2 separate regions of the Homo sapiens genome follow, and region 1 is linked to region 2. The links are contacts of gene promoters, found by promoter capture Hi-C in human tissues and cell types (Jung and others, 2019). All regions are on one chromosome and are shown on one strand. The core of a region is centred on a gene start or on the middle of the fragment in contact, and the rest is flanking DNA. Distances in the headings are between cores, read along the strand shown.

Region 1 (4,669 bases), core at 286-2,785, 290 kb after region 2:
ATATATGTGTGTGTGGGTGTTATATGTGTGTGTGTGTGTGTATATGTATATAATATATATAATTGCAATATAATAAAATAAGCATAAATAAAATACATACTATGTAAATAAAGTAAATATATGTATAATGTTACATGTGTATAAATACATACGTAAATATAAACTATCTCCTTTTCCTTTGTCCCTCTCTTGACAAATGCCAAAGAAGACTCAGGCTAAAGCTTTATTCTCTCTTCCTGTCTCATTTTCTGTTGATTCCATTTTATTTCTATTTTGTGTTGATTTGCAGTTGTACTACTCTGAGAATAGTTCTTCATCTTCATTTGTGTTAAAAATCAAGTTTCCGAAAAATTACAAACCCTTTAGACAATCTTTTACCTCCCCTGATTCAACAGCCTGCCTCTAGAGCTGGGGTTCTTAGAAAGCATTCTACACATACGCTGCTTTTTTTCAAACTTTAATTTTACAGAAAAAAAAGGAGTGTATCAGTTTTCTATTGCTGCTGTAAGAACTTCAAGAAACTTAGTGGCTTAGATAATAAATTTATTATCTCACAATTCTCTAGGTCAAAAGTCTGAAATTGGTCCCACTAAGCTAAAATCAGCATGTCGCAGGTCACATTCCTTCTAGAGGCTCCAGGGAAGAATCTATTTCCTTGCCTTTTCCAACTTCTAGAGCCAATCTGTATTCCTTGGCTAGTGGGCCCTTTCTCCATCTTCAAAGCCACTGATGTCAGGCTAAGTCCTTCCCATGTCACCATCTCTCCTTTTCTCCCTGTTCTGCGTACCTCTTCTGCTTTTATAAGGACTCCAGTGATTCCATAAAGCCCTCTGGGATAATCTAGGATAATTTGCCTATCTCCAGTTTAATTTACCATCTTAATTCCATCAGCAATCTTAATTACTCTTTGCCATGCACCTTAACATATTCACATAGAATGTGGACATTTTTAGGGGGCTACTATTTTGGCTACCACAATGATGAGTTAAACAAGGCTCACAAGAATTAGTACAATGAAACTTATATTGTCTTTAATTATGACATCATGACATTTCTCTCAATATATCTATATTTATTGCTACACATAGATGAATACCATAATAATTATTTATGAAATTTTAAACAAATGACAGGCATTATGACCCTTCATACTTCAGAAAGTAGCTTCTAAGAACAAGGATATTCATTTATAATCGCAATGCAACTAGCAAGTTTAGGAAATTATCAATGATACAATACTATCATCTAATATACATATTTCAATAGTTCTTCCCAAACTATCCTTCACAGAAAAAAAAAATCCCACCCAGGATCAGTCATTGCATTTTGTTTTCATTCTTCTTCAATCTCCTTTCTCTGCTATGAAACTGACATTTTTGAAGAGTATAGGACAGTTTCTACAGGAAGTCCCTCAATGTGGGATTTTCTGATTTTTTTTTCCTCATGATGAGATTCAGGTGATGCATTTTTGGCAGAAATACCACATGAATGATGCTGTGTCATTTTAGTGCACTCCATCATGGGGCATGCATCTGGTATCAGGTTGGCCTGTAACGAATTGGTAATGTTAGCTTTGATTACTTGACTAGTGGTGTTTACCAAGTTTTTACACTGTATAGTTGTCATTTTTTTATTCATAAGTAATTAATAATCTGTGGTGAGACATTCTGAGACCAGAGAAATATTCTAATCCTGAGTCCATCAAAATTTCACCCATTGCTTTTAGCATACACTGTTGATTCTTGCCTCAGTTATTAGTAATAGCAATGGAAAAACGGGAATTAAAAAACCCAAATTCATTCTTTTTGACAGTGTTTATGGAAATACTTCCTCATGACCATATTGAATTATAGTTTATGGTAACTGAGCAAAGCCCATGAATATCTTCATCTCTCTAGAGTGTTGGGGACTCTGATTGTATTACAAATTTGATTCAGTATTATCTTGAAATGCTTGAGTGGAAGTCAGGCCATTAGAGTTTCTGGAGTTTCTTAGGTCTTTCATTTTACTAATTCTAAAACATATGGCCTCTGGCTGAGTACTTGATAATTGTTTGGAGTGATTGAGGCTCAATAAGTTTCTACTAATTTTATAATATCTCTCAATGCTGGGCTTACTAACATGGCAGACCCAAGAGATGATGCAATATCATGCCTGTCATTAAGAAACACATAATCTAGTTAGAGAAAATGATAAAAAAAAAAAAAAACAAGTATAGTTAGGAACAGTCTCTGAGATTCAGAACCTTTGTGAAAGAACTGTAGATTAATTGAGTCTTTAAAATTGAATAGGATTTTAATTGGAGGAGAAAACTAGGCTGGTGTTCAAGGTAATAGAAACTGCATAAACTACATGTGGAAGCAGAAAAGAAGACAGCACTGCTGGAGAAAAATTAGGGCAACTACTGAAGAGGAAGATTCATGTTGAAAATTAAAGAGAGGAATTATTTGTAGAAGTAAGATGATGCTAGCTACTGAAAGTTGTTGAAGTTTTAGACGAGATGTTTCACCTTAAAATGACAGATAGAGGTTCTTGAGCAAGATGAAAATGGTATTTTAAGAAAATTACACTGTATAGGTGTGCAGGATGGATTAGAATGGATGGGCACCTGCGGTAGAGAGATTGGTTAACAGGCACTGCAAAATGCTTTGTAAATTAGAATGCATGATGCAAAGGCTTATGAATGTGAGAGAAAGAACCATAATGAATGCCCTTGGGATGCAGAAGGTGGGGTGAGTTTAAGAGATTTCAGAGTAAGAGTCAAAGTAAGTTAGAAGGATATCTCAGCCTAACAGCTGAGGTTCACATCCAGTCTACTTCTGGCTCCTGGCAGACAGTAAGCACACACCATAACTTGGTTGTGTCTATTTTTAAAAAGGATGAAATTTGTATATGGGATAATTACTCAGGATTTCAGGATCTTCACATTGACTGTCCATGTATTATATTCCACCTTGTTCTAGAAAGAATTTCAGAAGGCTTATTAAGTGATTTGTGCAGCACAATAAAATATTGTAAATTAGCCTAGGTTAAATGTGGGCAAAGAAATAAAGAAAAACTGTAAAGGAGTGGATCTGAGACAGAAACATTTAAAAAGTCTAATTCTTCAAACTACAATAAGCAACACATTTAATATGGGTGTGAGCCAGAAATTTTGGTCTAAACTTTCTGGCAGTAATGTCAAAAGTGAACAACCTGACTATTAAGCCACAGCATCATGCAACAAAACCAGATGGATTACTAGATAAACTTTTAAGTAATCTTGGATTACTTAATTGAGAGGATAACGTCTTAATTGCATGTGTTTCAGGTGAAAATTATTTTTCTCTGCAACAAAATTCTCTCTCTCTTTCTTGACACCCTCCACCCCCACCCCATTAGACACAGATGCACACACAGAAAGAAATACCAAAGCTAATAGTAACTGAAGAATAGCTAATGTCCACATTTTCCCATATCAGGTAGTTTTGATGGATAATTTAACATTCCTTCCTCTGCCAAAAATAATTCCAGACAATATTCCCTTGATATACAAATATACAATTGATTATTTTGCACTTATTTTAGTGATGGGCTTGATAAAATTAAGAATTTATAGATAGGGTGATTAGGAGAAGAGAAGTGAGACAGAACAAAAATGAAATTTTCTTTTAGATTTTTACTATGATATAAAAACTTGTGAGCCAGTGTTTGACCTTGATTGTAATAAAGCTACATCATGAAGCTTAACTGAATCTGTTATAAGAAGTTACCTAAATTTGTCATGCAGATAATATTGTGTATCTAAGGAAATATTAGAAAACTCATGCAAGTCAAATGTGTAGGAAATCAAGTGCTGATGGAAATAACATTTAGAAATAAGAACACAATGTCATTTACAGTAAAGTATAATGAGCTGCTAAATTAGGTACTGTGGTCTCAAAAGAGCAAAGTATTTTTGAACAAACCCAAGCCAAAGTAAGTTCTCCAAATGAGAAAGGCTCATTAAAGTAAGATGTTTGGGCTCCATATTTCTGTCATAATGATAATCAGGTACTCCATAATAAGGCGTTGGTGGATTACTGCTTTTATAGGCAAAGCCACTACAAAGTCTTGGCATGTTTCATTTTTGTTACATCCCAGCCATCAATCACAACCGACTCTATACAGCTTCTAAAATAGAAAGAACATTTCATTTAGCAAGGGAGAATTTTATGGGGCTTATTAAATAATACCCTTGTGAGCAAACAGAGATAAAGAAATTACCTTAATTACAGTTTGAAATTTGAATGGAGAAACAAACACACATATTGGACAACATAAAAACACATTCGTTATATGACAATTGGAAGAAAGCTTGTGTCCAAGAAAATAATAAGTCCTAATGAAAAGGTCATGAGCTTTGGAATTATATAAATCTGGATTTGTGTTAAGTGTATGATCTTGGGAAAGTAGAACAACTTTCTCGGTCTCAATTTTCTCACCTGTAAAATAAGAAGAGCAATACCTATTTTTCAGAGTGGATAGAAAAAATAAGGAGATACACTGATTAACATACCTTGCACATGGCCAAGGCATATAGAAGAGTCAATACATAATGACAACTTTTTGATTTAAGGTATTTTTTGACATTCTGCATAAAGGTATAGTCCTTATTTTTAGAAATACAGAGTCTAATAGAAAGATGTGC
Region 2 (4,609 bases), core at 1,136-3,635:
CCCAGCTACTCAGGAGGCTGAGGCAGGAGAATGGCGTGAACCCGGGAGGCGGAGCTTGCAGTGAGCCGAGATCGCGCCACTGCACTCCAGCCTGGGCGACAGAGTGAGACTCCGTCTCAAAAAAAAAATAAATAAATAAAAATAAAAAATTAGTAGCTAAATCTCAAGATTGTTGTGTGTTAATTAACCTCACCATCTGGCATTTCAGCTTTGGAGAGAAAGGGCAAGAAGTTTTCTAGACATTACACCATGAAGGCTTAACTACATTGTTATTATTTTATATTTTAACCTTTAAATAACAAAATCAATTAATTTTTACTTGGTAAGGTGGAGGTTGACCAGACAATATTTGTAGTGCCTGCAGTTTGACATCATTTGAGTACATACATACTCTACTCAAGACACCTGCTACCTAAGGTTCTTCAACTTGAAATCTTTTTAAAATTATAAAATGGTTATTATTATTATTTTTAAACTTGGTTTAATAAGTGGCTGAGATACTTAACAATTTGTGAATATATTCTCATGTGAATAATGAATTCTATAAAGCAATTAGAAGCCAGGTACAGTGGCCTGTAATCCCAGCACTTTGGGAGGCCGGAGCAGAAGGATTGTTTGAGGCCAGGAATTTGAGACCAGCCTGGACAATATAGTGAGACCCCCATATCTACAAAAGAAAATTAGGCAGGCATGGTGGTGCATACACATACTCTGAGTTACTTGGGAGGTTAAGACAGGAGAATCGCTTGAACCCAAGAGTTTGAGATTACAGTGGGCTGTGATTGCATCACTGCATTCCAGCCTGGATGACAGAGCAAGACCCCATCTCAGCAACAATAACAACAAAAATAATGCCATTAGAAAAACCAGTGCATTCTCTAAAATAGGTTCACAATTCTGCCTGTCTTGCTTAAGGCATTAAATTTCATGCAAACACTTCATTTGTAAATTATACAAAGGAAAACTTTAGCTTCACTTTAGTGGAATCACCATTTTCAGATTGGAAATCAAATTATCAAGGCTTTGTTTTCTGATGTAATGCAAAGTACTGGGTTTAGATTTTAGGAAAATTTCTAAATTATTTAAACCAGAACATATATTCATTATGAGAAACCTTACGTTTTTAATCAAATCCATACCTGTAATATACCTTCTTGAGCTTCGTTAAGGGAACAAAACAATTGAAGATGTGCATAGTGGCTTTAATTGGCCAGCATTTTAAAGAGGCATGTTATAGTCAGCTTTTTGAGCTTAACAAAGAGCTAGGGTATCATATGCAGTCACCATTCTTTGGGATGGGTTGTGGATTATTCAGGGAACATTTTGAAAATCCAACCAGAATCCTCCTTGCCCCATCCCCAGTCTCTTTTTAGACAGCGTTCTCTCTGTCTCTTCTGTTTACTTTCTGGATCAGCTTAGGGATTATAAAGTAATTTGACTATCAGACTAAGCCAAACATAATTGGGAAAGAGAAGCTGCCAAGAAGCAATCAGATCCACTGCATTCCAAAACCAAGCCTATTCTAAATGCTTGATGGACCATCCCCAGCACAGCCCACATGACTGTGAGCTACATGTGAATGGAGTTCTAATTGGATGCTCCCCACCACCTCAGTCCACAGACTTGAATTCACAAACCCTTGCAATAAGGAGAAAAGGAAGATGAGCTCAATCATACCTGTTCTCAGATATGCTTTACACAGCAAACCACCCAAAACTTACCAAGTAAAGAAACTGTCAGCTTTGGTCCTTAGATCCTTTGGAGAGGGAGCATTCTGGTGCCCGTCACATCCCAGGAATGATCTGTCCCCAGTTTCCAATCTGATGTGGTACTTTTTCTTGGAAGCCTTTTTGCTCCTGGCAGTTTCACTGTGGCCCTGCCCCCAGACACAGCTGAGGTTTGTAAATGAGGAAGGATGTCTCAATCTGAAGGTGTAGCAACTACTGAAGGGAGCTTGGAGGTTTTTTGTCTTTGTTTTTTTGTGCTGTGTTTTTTTTAAAAAAAAAAAAAAAAAAGAAAGAAAAGAGGCTTTATGGCCTAGAGGGGAAGCAGTTAGCAAGAGAAAATACTTTGAGTACTGTTGGTTCCCAAAACCACAAAACCCCAGGACTCAATGCAAAGCATTGCCTCAGTTTGGAATCTTTCTTGATAGAAGGAAAAGCAGTTCTCACCTGTCTTACCTTCTATTTCTGTACCAGCAGTGGCAACAGCAGCAAGTGAACAAGCAGTTCACTTCTTTCCCACCTGTTCAGAGTGACAGCTCATTTATTGCACAACTCACTTAGGGCAGAGGCATTGAGATGGGCATTTAACAGGGAGGAGCTACCAGCGCTCACCCTAGCAGAGGTGAAGTGGTATCTACTTGTCAACAGAGTATTCCAATATGAGCCTCTTTAAAGGGAGCTTGAGTAGTTATCAGGGACTGGTAGAAAGACAGGGATTGGTCCCCTAAGCTTGATGCCCTCCTTTCTCTGCAATTTTGGCTGGAATAGGAAGTAGTTTCCAGAGAGCTTGGGGCTGTTTTTGAAGGTACTTGGTTGCCCAGTGATTTGATTCACAACACACAGCCCTTAGGGCAACAAAAGGGAAAGGCCAGAATAGGCAGCATGCCAGCATTCAGAGCCTGACTGCCAGGCATACTCTTGGAGAGTGCCCAGTGTGGGGGAGACCCTGTTGGACTGGTCTCAGGTCCTAGGTCCTAACAGAGTCTAGATTACATTAAAAGAAAGTCTACAGGTGGAAACTAAGGTCCAGGAGAGAGACGCTTGAGTCATCTGCCCTCCTCCCACCTAACACCCTCTTCCTAGGCAGATGTAGAAGCAGCCTGCAACTTGTTGCTTCTTGCCCGAAGGATTCGCAGGGCTGTGAGTGAGACTCAGTCAAAAAAGAACAAGAGGTAGCCACACAGAGAGAAAATGCAGCCCAACTGTCTGGTGGCCTCCTTTATGGGAAATCTCCCCTTCCAGAATGTCAGCATCCCCTCCCTAAACGATGTTTTTTCAGATCCTTTAACAATAAAATTTAAACTGTTTCCCTGCATCTGAAGAAAGGAACCTCTTTTCCACTTTCCTCCTTTCTTCCCCCAAGTCTCCAGGTCAAATTACTGACACCCACTGGCCAGTGAAAACAACAGCAGGTTTTGTTTTCCATGTATGAGAGGAGGGTGTGTATATGTGGGTGCCGTCATAAATGTGACCAGCATCTTAAACCCACGGTAACTGAAGTTATAAGTATGCCAAAAGCAATCAGATAATTATATTTTAATAATTCATGACATCACAGAAATATACACAATGAATTTTTCCTTTACACTTTGTACTTTAGTAACAATTACTGGAATAAATTAGGTAAATTCTGTTTCAGCTTTAAGAAAGTTGCTGACAAGAATGTGCCAGATATAAATAGTTTCTAATGGAATGATTAAATAGAACAAACAATAAATAAACCGACAAGTAAATCTGTTAATAAAGTTTAAAGACTTGCACATAAAGAATTGATTCTCAGAAACAGGTAAATAATCAAAACTCTGCTCTCCACTGTAAGAAGCTTCTTAAATGAACATGGGAGTGCAGCTATCTCTTTGACATACTTATTCTATATCCTCTGGATATATATCCAGAGGTAGGATTGCAGGATTATATGAGAGCTCTATTTTCAATTTTCTGAGGAACCACCATACTGTTTTCCATAACGGTTGTACCAATTTACATTTCCAGCAACAGTGTATGTATTATTCTATTCTCACACTGCTATAAAGACATACCTGACTGGGTAATTTATCAAGTTTACTGACTCATCGTTCTGCATGTCTGGGGAGGCCTCAGGAAACTTACAATCATGGAAGAAGGCAAGAGAGAAGCAAAGGCACATCTTACATGGTGGCAGGCAAGAGAGAGCAAATGAATGAAGGAAGAGCCCCTTATAAAAGCATCACATCTCGTGAGAACTCACTCACTATGACAAGAACAGTATGGGGGAAACCACTCCCATGATCCAATCACCCACCACCAGATCCTTCCCTTGACATGTGGGGATTATGGGGATTACAATTTGAGATGAGATTTGGGTGGGGACACAGAGCCAAACCATATTAGTATACAAAGATTCCTTTTTCTCTACATTCTCTTCAATACTCATCTGTTGTCTTTTTGATGAAAGCCATTCCAACAGTGTAAGGTAGTTTCTCATTGTAGTTTGCGTTTTAATTTACATTTCCATGATGATTAGTGATTTGACCATTTTTTTTTATATATCTGTTGGACATTTGTATGTCTTCTTTTGAGAAATGTCTATTCAGATACTTTGTCTATTTTTTAATCAGATTTTTTTTCTATTGAGTTGTTTGCTGTTGAGTGTTTCTTATATATTTTGGATACTCCTTGTCAGATGGATAGTTTACAAATATTTTTTCCCATTCCATAGATTATCTTTTTACCCTGTTGACTGTTGCTTTGGTTGTGCAAAAGCTTTTTGTTTTGATGCCACCTCATTTATTTGTACTTTTGTTGCCTGTGTTTGGGGTCATATACAAAAAACCACTGCCTAGACCAATGTCATTACAGCATTGTTCACAATAATCAATAAGGGGAATCAACCTGGGCTCATCGAT

The links. The method cuts DNA at HindIII sites, captures the fragments that hold promoters and counts their contacts. A contact is called where the count stands out against the background at its distance.
Region 1: a contact is called between a fragment that was not itself captured here and the fragment with the promoter of BBOX1 in region 2, in 2 of the 25 tissues and cell types used here (aorta and mesenchymal stem cells).

Annotation. Positions count from the first base shown.
Region 1 is chr11:26,747,598-26,752,266 of GRCh38, reverse strand. No RefSeq gene overlaps it. Among named protein-coding and RNA genes, the nearest start is that of SLC5A12, 28 kb to the right of the region's middle. The HindIII fragment of the contact is 6,078 bases long and covers 1-4,574 here.
Region 2 is chr11:27,038,591-27,043,199 of GRCh38, reverse strand. BBOX1 (gamma-butyrobetaine hydroxylase 1) reads right to left here and starts at 2,385. Exons shown (of 9, transcript NM_003986.3): 1 at 2,172-2,385; 2 at 1,722-1,984. The HindIII fragment of the contact is 6,644 bases long and covers 1-4,006 here.